3 separate regions of the Homo sapiens genome follow, and all the other regions are linked to region 2. Evidence: promoter capture Hi-C in 16 types of primary human blood cells and fetal thymus (Javierre and others, 2016). All regions are on one chromosome and are shown on one strand. The core of a region is centred on a gene start or on the middle of the fragment in contact, and the rest is flanking DNA. Distances in the headings are between cores, read along the strand shown. Region 1 holds the start of PAPOLG (poly(A) polymerase gamma). Region 2 overlaps LOC107984043 (formin-2-like). Region 3 holds the start of REL (REL proto-oncogene, NF-kB subunit).

Region 1 (4,627 bases), core at 1,623-4,122, 2.7 Mb before region 2:
GTCTCGGCCTCCCACGGTGCTGGGATCACAGGCGTGAGCCCCCGCGCTCAGCCAATTCAAGTTCTGAGATTTTGAGTTTACACAAACTAATCAACTTCAAAATAAATTCTGGGACCAACAGGGGTTGGCAAAACTTCTAATTTTGCTATGAAAGTAAAAACATACACACTAAACGACCAACACTACCATTTATCTTCACCATGCTTCCATGAAGGGCCATTAACACCAAGAGTAAGAATGTAATCTCAAAATTAGAAACAATCTTTCAAGTTGAATAAATTAGCCCTGTAAAAAATAACATACAATAGAGATTGTTTAATTGTTTTTGGATTCTAACTGGTCAAAACACTGTCTTACCACTACTAAGTACACAGAGTAAGACACGCTGTAATAGCTAAAGATCTCATTAGAGGCCGGGCGTGGTGCCTCATGCCTGTAATCCCAGTACTCTGGGAGGCCAAGGCAGGTGGATTACTTGAGGTCAGAAGTTCAAGATCAGCCTGGCCAACATGGTGAAACCCCGTCTCTACTGAAAATACAAAAAATTAGCTGGGCATGGTGGCGGACGTCTGTAATCCCGGCTACTCGGGAGGCTGAGGCAGGAGATTCGCTTGAACCCAGGAGACGAAGGTTGCAGTGAACCAAGATCGCGCCACCACACTCCAGCCTGGGCAACAAGAGCGAAACTCCGTCTCAAAAAAAAAAAAAAAAAAAAAATCTCATTAGGCAGAGAGGGAGAAAGAATCAAATGGAAGATAAAATAGCCTGTATACCTTCCAAAATGACTCAAAAAAAAAAAAAAAAAAAAAAACCCCAGAAACCAAAATACTGGTTAATTTATCTTCTGTATTTATTTTGTTGTAGAACAAACAAAACTTCAATTAGTTATTTCAAGTGGTAATTTCTTTTTAAAGATTTGGCTTTTTACCTCTGAGAAAGCTAGAGCAGTGTTTTGGTATTGTTTGTGTAATACATATGTAAATATATACGGTAAGTGAATAGGACAGAGTAATTATCTACATATCTATATAGTATCACTCAATCGCAATAATCCTAAGGGGTATTGAATAAGTGCCATTTTACAGATAAGTACCTGAAAGTCAAAGAGAGGACAAGCCAGAATCTGAACTCCAAAACCTCTTTCCACTACTCCATTCTCTCCTCTCTAACTACTTCAGCTCTGACACCATGATGACGGGCCTCACTTTTTTACCTGTATGCTGACAAAGTTGGCCAACTAGCCTACTGGCCCTAAAATTCCAAATCCAGGTTCTGAACTTCCCCCATCTAGAGGGGAGGGGAAAGTAAACAACAGAATCCCACATTCCCTTCAAACCATCAATTTCACTTACAGGCAAACAACCTAGAGAAATTCTAGTTACAAGCGTACAAAGAGACACCTAAAAGAACGTTCACTGTCACATTGTAACATTAAAAACTTAGAAATAAAATAGTCACTAACAGGAAAAGAATTAAATTAGGGTGTTTTCCTACAATAGAATACAATACAATAATTAATATTAATTAATTACAACTAAAATACTAACATGAACAAAGCTCAGAGATACTATGTTGTGCTAAAGAAGTTACAGAATTCCAAGTGTGATACGAGTTATATAAAGTTTAAAAACAACTAGAACTATGCCAGTTATTATGAACACATGTGTATGTAGTAATAGCATTAAAAAACATGCAGCTCCCATGATTCGAGGGCGGAAAAAAAAGAAGTAAAATAAAAAACAGGCAGCAACGATAAACATCAAATTCAAGACTGTGGAGACATCTGGAGCAAGAGATGATTGGGACCAGAGAAGGAGGTAGGAGAGTCCTTCAGATGTATCTGGAATGCTTGATTTCTTTTTAAAATAAATACACAGATACGTATATACACACCGTGTGTGTGCGTGTGTGCATGTACGTGTATGTGTGTACAGTTACGTTTTGGGAGAAATGGGTGGTGGCTCCACAAATGATGCTTATGTTATTCTCTACATTTTTCTGCATGTTTAAATTATTTCCTAATAGACCAAAATGGAAGAAGCTACAACAAAATCTTGCCAAGTACGGGAACTGTTTCTGACTTATCAAAGTGTGAACAAGAGGTACAGACCGGTAGATGTTGTGGGTAGGTGGGGAAGCAGGGGGTGAGGGAGAGGGTGGGGACGGCGGTGAAAAGACTGTAGCCTCATATGAAAGAGAAACCCTTGGGCTGCGATAGGTCTTTCACTCCTGAAGACCTGGAGACAGCCGGTCGGGAAGGGAGGAGGGGGAGGCAGGGGGATGGTATTTGCGCCAATGCAGACAGGAGCAGACGGGCTCAGACAGTGCTGGGGGCAGGCGAGTGACCGACAATTTCTCCCTACGGACACAGGCACCTCTTTCCCTCCTCATCCTTTTCTGAGGGCGTCCTCGGAGGCGGGACAGCTGGGGACTCCCGGAGTCCCCGAGTCCGTGCAGGGGTGGCCAGGTGAGCCGCCGGGTTTAGGGGAGGTGCCCTTGCGGACCGGCCGGGAGCCGGGAAGGAGACCATCCCGGCGAGCTGCGTGCAGGGCGCAAGGGACAGGGAACGGAAACAAGGACACAGTCGGACCACCTCAGCTCACCCCTACCCGCCTCACCCCAACCGCCGCCCCCCACCACTTACGCAGACATCTCTTTCATCGCTTCCTGCGTCTCCCTCTCCAGCGAGTGTTTATCGCTCTGGAGTCCTGTTCTTGCTGTTCCCTTCTCCCCCTGTTCACTTTCCTCCGGTCGCTAGTAGCTCGCTTGCTCGCTCACTTTCCCACTTACTATGGCTGAGGCATCCAACCGAGTAGTGAAAACACCACAAAACCGGCTCTATTTATGACAATACAGCGCGGCCGACGCCAATATGGCGCCGCTTCCCAGCCTGCCTCTCGCAGGTCTCAGCCCCGCCCCTGGAGGTCTGGACCACCCTCAGCCACGCCCCCTCTGCCTTTAGGTCCCGGGAGGCTCCGGGGCCCCGCCCACAAGCTCAGGGCTCTCAGTATACCGTTGGTTCGAAGGAGTATTTATTTGGTACTCTCCTTTGTCCGCGGTACTGTCAATGCCGGTAGACCGCTTGGAAGGAAATTTGGAGATATGTTTTCCTTGCCTCTCGAATGGCAGCATATATCATACATTTTTTAAAAAGGTCACACCCTTGCCTAGCAAAAACTATTTCAACGCCTCCGTTATCCTACATCTTTGATTTAATTATAGTTATACATAATTAACTCACCAGTTGAGATTTTGTCTCGAAAGGGTCACACCCAGGAACATACGACTTTCACACAAGTATCCCAGGGAAAAACAAGCTTGTAAATTGGAGGCTTAACTGTTCACTTCACCCCTAAGTACCACCTTTGATTAGTGACATTCTGGCATTTAGCTGACAGAGGTTGAAAATAGTAGCTAGCAGTTTGCAATAGGATAAATCCCAGGCTGAAACAAAAATCTTACACTTTTAAATAGTGGAAATCATGTTCGATGTGAGTGTGGGGATGAAAATGAGAAAATAATAACCAATTTTAAAATGCTGAAAGGTAGAAGTAATTTCAAGCACTAAATCATTACAAAGAAAAGGAAGTCAAGAACTGCTTGCTCTTGAACATAACTCAGAGTCACAGTAAATAGAGGAGATTACTTGCTGATTAATTCATTAAAAAATATTTATTGAGGCAAGATACAGTGGCTCACACCTGTAATCCCAGCACTTTGGGAGGCCAAGGTGGGAGAATTGCTTGAGGCCAGGAGTTCGAGAACAGCCTGGGCAACATAGTGAGACCCTGTCACTACAAAAAGTTTTAAAAAAATTAGCTGGGCATGGTGGCCCATGCCTGTAGTCCCAGCTACTCAGGAGGCTGGGGTGGGAGGATCTCTTTGAGTCCAGGACGTGGAGGCTGCAGGAAACCAGGATGGCACCACTGCATTCCAGCCAGAGTGATAGAAGGAGACCCTGTCTCAAAAAAATAAATAAATAAATAAATAAATAAAAACTACAAAACATATTTTTGAAAACCTGAGCAAGGTGCAGTGGCTCTTGCCTGCAATCCCAGTGCTTTGTGACGCCAAGGCTGGTGGATCACTTGAGGCCATGAGTTCTATTAAGACCAGCCTGGCCAACATGGCAAAAACCCATCTCTACTTAAAAGCAACAACAAAAACCTGACGTGGCCTGGTGTGGTGGATCACACCTGTAATCCTAACATTTTGGGAGGCTGAGGCGGGTGGATCACTTGAGGTCAGGAGTTCGAGACCAGCCTGGCCAACATGGTGAAACCCCATCTCTACTAAAAATAGAAAAACTAGCTGGGTGCGTGGTGCGCCTGTGATCCCGGCTACTCAGCAGGGTGAGGCAGGAGAATTGCGTGAACCCGAGAGGCAGAGGTTTTTTTGAGATGGAGTCTCGCTCTGTTGCCCAGGCTGGGGTGCAGTGGCGTGATCTCTGCTCAGCCTCCTGAGTAGGTGGGATTACAGGCATGCACCACCACGTCCAGCTATATTTTTGTATTTTTAGTACAGACGGGGTTTCACCATGTGGGCCAGCTAGTCTCAAACTCCTGACATCAGGTAATCCGCCCACCTCGGCTTCCCAAAGTGCTAGGATTACAGATGTGAGCCACCA
Region 2 (4,860 bases), core at 420-2,919:
AAATTATGCCTTAATAAAATCGATTTAAAAGAATGGCAAAAGAGAAAGATAGGAAGATCCTGAGTCTTTGAGGCCATTATTGAACTACTAATTCAACTAATCCTGAACCACCATATTTTCATATTCATCCATGAAGTGTTAAGTGTTCTTATGATTTAAACCACTTAGCATTGGTTTTTATATTTCTTGCAGCCAAAATCTTCCTAACAGTAAAATAAAGTTTCAAGTTTCATAAGTGCCAATGATTTTTAAATGTTAATAAATTTGTACTAAATAAAAATGGCAACAGGAGCAGGTAAACCTATATTGAGAATATGTGTTTTTTTTAAGTGTTGGGATTTAATGCAGAATTTTATGATTCAGAGCATATTGCTGTGTGTATGTTTCAAGATGAAAACTGACAGAATATAGAAATACAAATTTTGGAACTAGTGAAAGAACATCTTCTGAATGAACATGATGAGAAACAAGAAAGAAAAGAGAATCTAGACATGAAAGCAGTGAAGTGTGAGTCATCAGAAAAAAAATATGGGGAAAACTAGGTTTTCAAACAAAGCTATTTTGATAGATCTTACAGGCTATGAATGATTCACCACAAATACACGCACACAAAAGGACTTTCTTGGCTGTATGCCAACTTGTAGGTATGGCATGCGTTCTGCTTTTCAAAGAACTGGGTGCTATAAAATGCTTACACTGGTTAAAAAGAAAAAGAAAAACCCAACCATTTAGTAAGCATACTTTACAAGGCCAAGATCATTTCAAATCAATTAAAATGTTAAAGATGATGCATAGACAAAACATTCAGAAAAAGCCAATTTTTGTTATTTAAAGTGAGATAAGGAGATCATATCAGTGAACGTGTTTTGCCTGCCAAAGAAGAGCTAGTATTTTTGTTCTGTAAAAATCAGGAGGCCATTTGCACTCATAAACTTACAATCTCTAAACAGCTAAGCAGTTCCTGACATAGAAATTTTGAAATTAATAATTTTGAAAATAATAGAATTCAGGTAAATGGAATTCCAAGCCCATTAGATAAACAATCAGACCAAGTATCTATGTCCTCTGCATTCTTTACATATAAGATCATTACAAAGTATAAACTTAATCATCCAAATGACATAATTCTTCATTGTCTATATAAATGAAGAATTAGAATATTAAAAATAATTTAAAATGTCATATCAATATGTCATGTAAACCAAAAAGTATCTGAGATAAGTCTCAATCAATTTAGAAGTTTCTTTTGCCAAGGTTAAGGACATGCCCGGGATACAGCCTCAGGAGGTCCTGAGAACATGTGCCCAGGATGGTTGGGCTACAGTTTGGTTTCGTATGTTTTAGGGAGACAGAAGACGTCAATCGATACTTGTAAAATGTACATTGGTTCAGTCTGGAAAGGCCCGACAGCTTGAAAGGGGGGTAGGAGGGGGGAGTTCCAGGTCATAGGTGGATTCAAAGATTTTCTGAGTTTATCTAAAGACCTGGAATCAGCAGAAAGGAATATCTGGGTTAAGATAAGGGGTTGTGGAGACCAAGGGTATTAGTTTACTGATGGAGCCTCCAGGTAGCAGGCTTCAGAGAGAATAGACTTTAAATGTTTCTTATCAGACTTAAAAAGATGCCAGATTCTTAGTTAATTCTCTTCTGGATCAGGAAAAAGACTTGGAAAGGGAAGGGGATTCTCTACAGAATGTAGATTTTTTCCACAAGAGAATGTTTGCAGGGCCATTTCAAAACATGTCAAAGAAATATATTTGGGGATAAACTGCTTCATTTTTTTTCAGGGCCTGGTATCTGTCATGTTGGTATCTTATTGCTACAAAAAGTCTGTCTCGTCAGTCCAAAGGTCTGTGCTTTAATATTAATGCTGGTCAGTTGTGTGGGAATTTCAAAGGGCAGAGGGTATGCATACCCAACCACCCATTTCCATCATGGCCTGAACTGGTGTTTCCAGTTAACTTTGGAATGTCCTTGGCTGAAAAGAGGGGTCCATTCAGTTAGTTCGGGGGCTTAGAATTTTATTTTTCATTTATAGTCAAAAGGCTCAATAAAAAATTTTTAAGCATATTAATTTGTAGAACCCTGCTGCCAAACAAAATGTAAATGTAAATATGTATCAGATTATCTCTCAAACAATTGAATGTAGTAAACCAAATATTGACTAGCCAAAAGTGGTATGATTCTTACCCTGTCCATTCCCCAAATACGAGCACCATAAAAGGTTAACTATAAGACTATATTTACACTCTACATCCTTTTTCCCCCCCAGTTAACATCCCTGCAGTAACCAAAAACATGAGCTGGATAAGGAGGAGAAGAGGAGCTGGCCGAATGATTTTTAAGCAGAAGCTGAATGTTCAATAAGAATAGAGTTGACACCTTCAGAGGAGAAGTAAGAAATAGTTTTCCTGTGTGTCATGTAAGTCATGTTTTTAGGCTTACCTTTCATGCAATTGCAACAACATCCTCTAAGGGTCTTGAACGAACCTTCTATTCCCCAAATATTCCTGACCATTCCCAATGACTATCTCAGATGTGCTCCATCACTTTGTCTCTCCTACTGTGAACCTTTTGGTTGGTATCTACTGTTGACACATAGCTTACCTAATGAACTAGGTGGAAGTATCTGGCTAATGTTGCTAGCTGCCTTCTTCCACACAGCTCTATCTCTGACATTCTGTAGCTTGCAAGGCATCAAAATGGACCTGGATTTTCTGCAGCCCTTAAGACACTTAAACCAAGTTGTGGTCCACACAGAAGCAAAGGCTTCTCTTGTCGCTTTGGGTCACAATTTCTCTTACTGCTTTACTACTTCCACTACAGGGGCTAACAAATGTTTTAATGTAAACAGTGTATTTAGGTTTTCCTCTAAGTCTCACTGCCAATTTCAGGACCTAAGCATGCAGTTGGGAGCTAGTGGACACGACAAGTGAAAGATATTATGTTATATTCAGATTTATTTTTCTTTAGATATCATAAAAGTAATTGGACAAACCTAGTCTTCCTGACTTCCCCTTCTGTTACCTGTTATATTGAGTTATCTCACTGAAGACTCCTTGTTATTTCAGGCAAATACACTCAGATGTCTGTGGATCTAGAAATGAGTGAAAAATATAGATTCCAGCTGAGAGATACACAATTATCAAATTCCTTAAGATATACCAATATTTAAATCTATTTATTATAAAATACATGCTTATCTGGGGAACATAGCGAGACCCTGTCTCTACCAAAAATTATTAATAAAAAGTAAAAAAAATTAGCCAGGTGTGGTAGTGTGTGCCTGTATTCCCAGCTACTCAGAAGGCTGAGGTGGGAGGATTGGGAGCCTGGGAGATTGAGGCTGCAGTGAGCTATGATCACAACACTACTCCAGCCTGGGCAACAGAGTGAGACTCTGTCTCAAAAATAAAAATAAAAATAAAAATAAAAAATAAATAAAAATAAAATACATGCTTATAGTAAATATTTAAGAAAATATCAAGAAGTAATTATAGAGGGGGAATTGCCCATAAAAAATTTTTAAAAATACTCTCTGTTAACATTTTAGTGCATTTCCTTTTAGTGTTTTATTTTTTATCCCGTAAAAGGTTTTAGGTTATATGCTTTCCACAGTTATACTCAAATTGTGTGTATATAATATTTTTATTCTGCTTTTTTCAATTAACAGTATAACAAACACATTTTCCCCCTCTCCAGTCATCAGTCATGATCCCCCATCCTTAAACAATTAGTCACTAAATCCTGAGTCTTTAATATGCTTATTGGGGTAATGAGTTGGGGAAAGACAAGGAGTGATCTCAGGAAGCCAGGAAATTCATATTGAAATAAAAAGAAATGCTAGGGAGAAAAATAATTAAGAAGGCTAGAGGAGAAACAGAAAAGACAAGAATTCAATCCTATTGGATGTAGGAGAAATTTTTAGGGAATAAGGAGAGAGGAATATGAAAGTTTTTTGTGGAGAACAGCTGCTCTGAGATAACTGAGACTGAAAGAGAAAGAAAAAGAGCATTTTTAAGAGTTGAATGTACTTCCCCTTTTGGCAATGTTGTGAGGAAGTGCAATTAGGATGCACATTGCTTTCGGTTATCTTTGGCTGCAGGAGAGTTGTTTCTTGGAATATGATCCTATGTGAGGATCTTTTCAAAATGAGGGTATAAACTGGCCAGGATGATGTAGGTTGTATAATAGCTTTTAAAATTGTTTTATTTTTACGTAAATCAGATAATACCTTACTTGCTGTTTCACATCTTGATTTTTATCAACTAATAGTATTGTGGCTTCCCCAACCTGCATCAATATATAAATATTTTATCATATTCCAGTTGTACATGTCTTCTAATATTCCATAGTGTAGATGTATCATCATTTAATCGTTTTTATTTAGATGGATATTTAGGGTTTTTTTGTTTTATTCCAAATTATCATGAAAGCAGAATGTTGATCAGTCTTATTTCATCAGCACCTGTAGTAGTGGCTGAGGTTGTGTGGTTGAGGCTTGCATATTAAATTGACAAAAGACAGATTAACAGGAAAAAAGGTGTATGTATCTTTATTGATGCTAAATTTTTTTATGTGCATAGGGTCTCACAGAAAGAAAGTGAAAACTCAAAGAAGTTAGACTTGTAGGCATATATACCATTTTAACAAAGTGTGATATATTATGGAGAAGTGACTAGACAAAAGAAATGAGGGCTCCTAGGGGCAGTAAACTATGGAACAGAGACTGGTAAATCTGGGGTAGATAAGGCTTGTTTAGTAAGTTTTGTTAGGCAGATAAGAATAATTATCCTACACTCGGGACTGGAGAGAAAAACACCTTTACAAATGAAAATCTGTGTTGCCTTTACAAAGGAA
Region 3 (4,581 bases), core at 778-3,277, 2.8 Mb before region 2:
TTAAATCGCCAAGAGCCTGAACTTACTTATAATGCTAGGCATTCTCCATTACTTCCAAACAAAATCTTTCTGATAACCAATACATTAACAAAATATTTGAAGTCATCTTAGCACTTCTAATCTACACATGCTTTGAATTCATAAATTTACACGATTATCTGAAAGTCTGGTGTCACTTAAGTGGGAAAAGGGAAAGTTGAAATATTTTAAACTACACTTAGTATTCTCACAACCACAAACAAACTGAAATCAAATGTCATGTGAAACACCCCAATTTCCTTTTCTGCCTACAGCAATAGCTATGGCATTGTTCTGCTCAACCTTTTAAAAAGGTTCTTTAAGCTTCCTACTTCCTCATCTCTACTAGACATCAGCCTACTTCTGAGGGTCACTGGACCAGGCAGTTTGGGGATAAGAGTCAAGTTCATAAACGGGGCCCCCTCTTCATTCTCTTAGTACAGCATTTAACATGCATTTAGCCCTCCCTGCCTTTGCTCACGCTGCTTCCTCTGTCTGGAAAGTGTCCCCCACTCACCTTGCCAAAATCCTGGTAAAAGACCAACTCGACCCCAGGCTACTTGATTTATCCCCCCGCCCCGGCTCTCCCGTCCCCCTCAACCTTAAGCTCCAGGCAGCCCCAACCACATCTGTGTATATAGGAGACTTTCTTGCTCTGCAATGTTTCTTACAAACTTATTCCCCCCCAAAGGGAGAGATCGAGCATTTATTAAGGGAAAATATATAGTCACATAAGTGATAAAGTTGTATTCATTCCTACTCATTATTTTAAAGCTCGGATATTCTAAAACTCCTCTTTCCCCTTATTTCCAGCGAGGAGGAAGGGGGATTCAACGTCTCTATTCGTCAGATTAGGAACCTTGAGCTTTATCTCACAGTAAAAACTACATTTTTTTTTTTTTTAAATAGAGACAGGGTCTCCCTCTGTCGCCCAGGCTGGAGTGCAGGGGCGCGATCTCGGCTCACTGCAACCTCCACCTCCCAGGTTCAAGCGATTCTCCTGCCTCAGCTTCCCGAGTAGCTGGGATTACAGGCGCGCGCCACCACGCCCCGCTGATTTTTGTATTTTTAGTAGAGACGGGGTTTCACCATGTTTGCCAGGCTGGTCTCAAACTCCTGACCTCTGGTTATCCACCCGCCTCGGCCTCCCAAAGTGCTGGGAATACAGGCATGAGCCACCGCGCCCGGCCTACACTTGGTCGAAGCAACATTAACACTTAAAATACCACGGATTTTCTAATTCGTGTTAAAATACCACGGATGATTTTTAAAGCCGTGACACATTTTGTACAACTGTCAGTACAAGGGGGATCACCTCTTTGCATTTGATGAAATTAAACTAAAAAGGGGGAGAGAGCTTGCCCGAGGTCTGAAGGTTCCTCATTCCTGTTCTAAAACATAAAACCACCATCTTCAATACATATACATTTTTAATGAGAACTCTTCGTCCTCCTTTGGTTCGCTTATGACTTCCCTAATCCTAAAATCAAGTCGTTGGGAATTTCTAAGGTTCCTGCTATGACAACAGGATCGAATTACAGAGCGTGGCTTGGATTCTGCACGCAAACCCTGAAGCAGGTAACTTTTTTAAAAGCTGACAATTTTACCATATGAGATTTTAAAGACAGAACGCGCCCCAGCAAAAACTGAGCTCCCTAAACTCACTGCGGCAGGACCCCCTTCAGAAGAGCTCCTTTCCCCCGGCCCAGGCCCGCGCCCCATGAACACTCACCGGAGGCCATGGCTCCGCTCCCCGCACCTTCCCGCAGGCAGCTCCCAGCGTCCTGGCCGGAGGCGGCCGCAGTCAGTCAGTCAGGAGGCCGAGGGACCTCTGCCGGCGGGGCCCCCAGTCCCCCGACCACCCTAGAGGCCTCCTCCTTCTTCCCGCCCTCCGCTGGGTTTGCGGCTCACACCTTCCCAACCCCTGAATTCTTGCACCCCGGGTCACCCAGCGTCGCCGTCCACCGTACGGGAGCCAGGGGCAGGGGGCGGAGCGGGGAGAGCCGAGTGCTGGCCCAGCCGAGAGGCGAGCAGCCTGGCGGGAGGGGAATTTCCCGCGGCTGACGTAGGCCCGACGCAGCAACCCTCACCCGGAGGCGTGGGCGGGGCGACCTCGCGGCCGCCGCGCGCGCGACCGCCCCCAGCGCCCCGCCCCTGCCTGTCCCCGCGCACGCTCCCCGCCGGCCCCCACGCATACGCCCCCGGCGCTGCTGCGGCGGCTGGCTTGGGAGGGGGTCGAGGGAGCGGGAGCTTGGGGTGGGCTTCGGGAGCGCAGGGAACGGCGGGAGCCGGGAGGTGACGGCTAGCAGCGTGAGAAGGCCGCTGGCTCCTGAGAAATCCCCCTCCTCCAGGTTGTTCTTCCGAGTGTGGTTTAAAGTTCAGGAGCGGGCGGGAGGGTGCGGATGACGTAGAGAGGGCCGGCCGCTGGGGAGCTTTTGGGGGCGCGCGGGGCCGACTCTCCCGGCCTGGGAGGGCGACGGCCGGGGTTTTCGAGAGGTGGTTCCCCCTCTTCCCGACTTCGCACATGCAAATCTCCACCCCCGCGCCAGCGGCGGGACGTTGCGCCCTGTAGGGGGAAGTGGTGCTGCGGCGGGGGTCCTGTCTTCTTCTGTAATTCCTGTATTTGCATACGGGGACCCCCCCCCCGACTGATTTTTTTTCCTCCATCTAAATTGCGAGGGTACTGTGAACTTTACGTATTTTACCTACTGAAACCCGTTTAAACTCAAAAGGTCCGCACTTGGAGTTCGTTGTCTCATTAGGCAGTGCACTGAAGTTTAGTGGACACTATATCCTGAGATTTCACACAGATGCCAAGAAAGGCGGAAATGGAGCACACATTTAGTGCATTAAAGGACCTAGGATAACTTCGTTTCCTTCATTTGAATAGTACCTGCTATGCATCAGATAATGTCCATACTTAATCTATGACGTATTTATTATTCCTAACTTTATAGATGAAGTATTCGGGGTTCAGAGAAGTTACTTCAACATACAGTACTTCAGAATGCTGATAAAAGGCACAGTTTAAAGCCAGGGTTGTCTGACTCCAAAGCTCCATGCCCTTGCCCCTGTCCCTTACTAGTTAAAATTAGTACGGAGAGGTAATGGGGAATATCAGCCTGCCATACAAGTGCCCAAAACTGGGGGACCCATATGGGCAAATAATTTAAAATATCCTGCCAACCCCAAACTGTTCTTTCCACGAAATGCGCAATGTACAACAAAAGAATGAAACAGTTTTATTATTGGATATGTACTAAAACGTACCATGATGCACATCACAGGCAATCCACTGAAGAGAGTGCAAAGACCAAAAAAAAGGAAATCTCACCTTTTCATATGGTCAGGCACGTACAATCCATTACATACCTATTAATTGTCTTTATCCAAAGGAAAATAATGGGAAGTTATCTTGGAACCAAGAGCCAAGGCTTAAACCCTCCTAGAGACAGAAACATGGAGCACCATCCTTGATGTTCACATTTCCAAGAGATGGCTCCGAGGCCCGCAAGAAAGACCTTCTGAGGACGCAAAACTAGCAAGAGGCTTATTTAGCTTTTTAAAATATGTACATACATTTCAAAGAGACGGAAAACATTTTCAGTTCTCTGAAGGAATTTCAAAATGAAAAGTGACTGGGGGAGAGGAAAGTTCTGAGGAGGTGACATTTGAGCTGAGTCCTCAGTTTAAGAAAGAGCCGGCCAGGCGCAGTGGCTCATGCCTGTAATCCCAGCACTTTGGGAGGCTGAGGCAAGTGGATCACGAGGTTGGGAGTTCAAGACCAGTCTGGCCAAGATGGTGAAACCCCGTCTCTACTAAAAATACAAAAATTAGCCAGGCGTGGTGGCGGGCGCCTGTAACCCCAGCTACTCAGGAGGCTGAGGTAGAGAATTGCTTGAACCTGGGAGGCGGAGGTTGCGGTGAGCCGAGATCATGCCACTTGCACTCCAGCCTGGGCGACAGAGCGAGACTCCGTCTCAGAAAAAAAAAAAAAAAAAAAAAAAGGCCATTCACAGGGAGATTCAGGGAAAGAACATTCCAGCTGGGGGAACAGCAGGCAGCAGGTCCTTGAGATAGGAAAGAGCACAGTCAAGAATTGTCCCTCATCCTCATGACCTTCAAACGTCTCATCAAACATTCACTTTCATGTAGTTGAAATGCCTATTTTAATAATATATGGTTAGAACACAACTCCCTTTCATATATAGATATAAAATATTTTTGTATGGTTTTTAATATATACTGAATTTCCCAGGAATGCAAATATTGTATAAATTGAGGGCAGACTTTTATTAAAAAATGTTTTAAAAGTTGGAAAATTGTAACTCTGACAGCTCATCAATACAACACAGTATGCCAGCTGTGGTGGCTCACACCTGTAATCCCAGAACTTTGGGAGGCCGAGGCGGGTGGATTACCTGAGGTCAGGAGTTCAACACCAGCCTGGGCAACATGGTGAAACCCTGTCGCTACTAAAAATACAAAAATTAGCTGGGCGTAGTGGTGTGCTCCTGTAATCCCAGCTACTTGAGAGGCTGAGGCACGAGAATCGCTAGAACT

Evidence for each region. The method cuts DNA at HindIII sites, captures the fragments that hold promoters and counts their contacts. A CHiCAGO score of 5 or more calls a contact.
Region 1: a contact is called between the fragment with the promoter of PAPOLG here and a fragment that was not itself captured in region 2, in 1 of 17 cell types (total CD4 T cells). The highest score is 5.3, in total CD4 T cells.
Region 3: a contact is called between the fragment with the promoter of REL here and a fragment that was not itself captured in region 2, in 1 of 17 cell types (neutrophils). The highest score is 5.5, in neutrophils.

The regions. Positions count from the first base shown.
Region 1 is chr2:60,754,513-60,759,139 of GRCh38, reverse strand. PAPOLG (poly(A) polymerase gamma) reads right to left here and starts at 2,872. Exons shown (of 22, transcript NM_022894.4): 1 at 2,645-2,872. The coding sequence starts at 2,661. RefSeq lists enhancers at 1-12, 2,647-2,956. The HindIII fragment of the contact is 3,911 bases long and covers 1-3,319 here.
Region 2 is chr2:58,038,481-58,043,340 of GRCh38, reverse strand. It overlaps LOC107984043 (formin-2-like), which reads left to right. Exons shown (of 3, transcript NR_171623.1): 2 at 1,788-1,849; 3 at 2,273-3,265. It also overlaps a transcript of VRK2 not described here. Among named protein-coding and RNA genes, the nearest start is that of VRK2, 5.9 kb to the left of the region's middle. RefSeq lists an enhancer at 4,109-4,158. The HindIII fragment of the contact is 8,313 bases long and covers 1-4,860 here.
Region 3 is chr2:60,879,020-60,883,600 of GRCh38, reverse strand. REL (REL proto-oncogene, NF-kB subunit) reads right to left here and starts at 2,027. Exons shown (of 10, transcript NM_001291746.2): 1 at 1,751-2,027. The coding sequence starts at 1,760. REL-DT (REL divergent transcript) reads left to right here and starts at 2,287. Exons shown (of 3, transcript NR_033980.1): 1 at 2,287-2,369. RefSeq lists an enhancer at 1,615-2,284 and a silencer at 1,893-2,432. The HindIII fragment of the contact is 7,860 bases long and covers 345-4,581 here.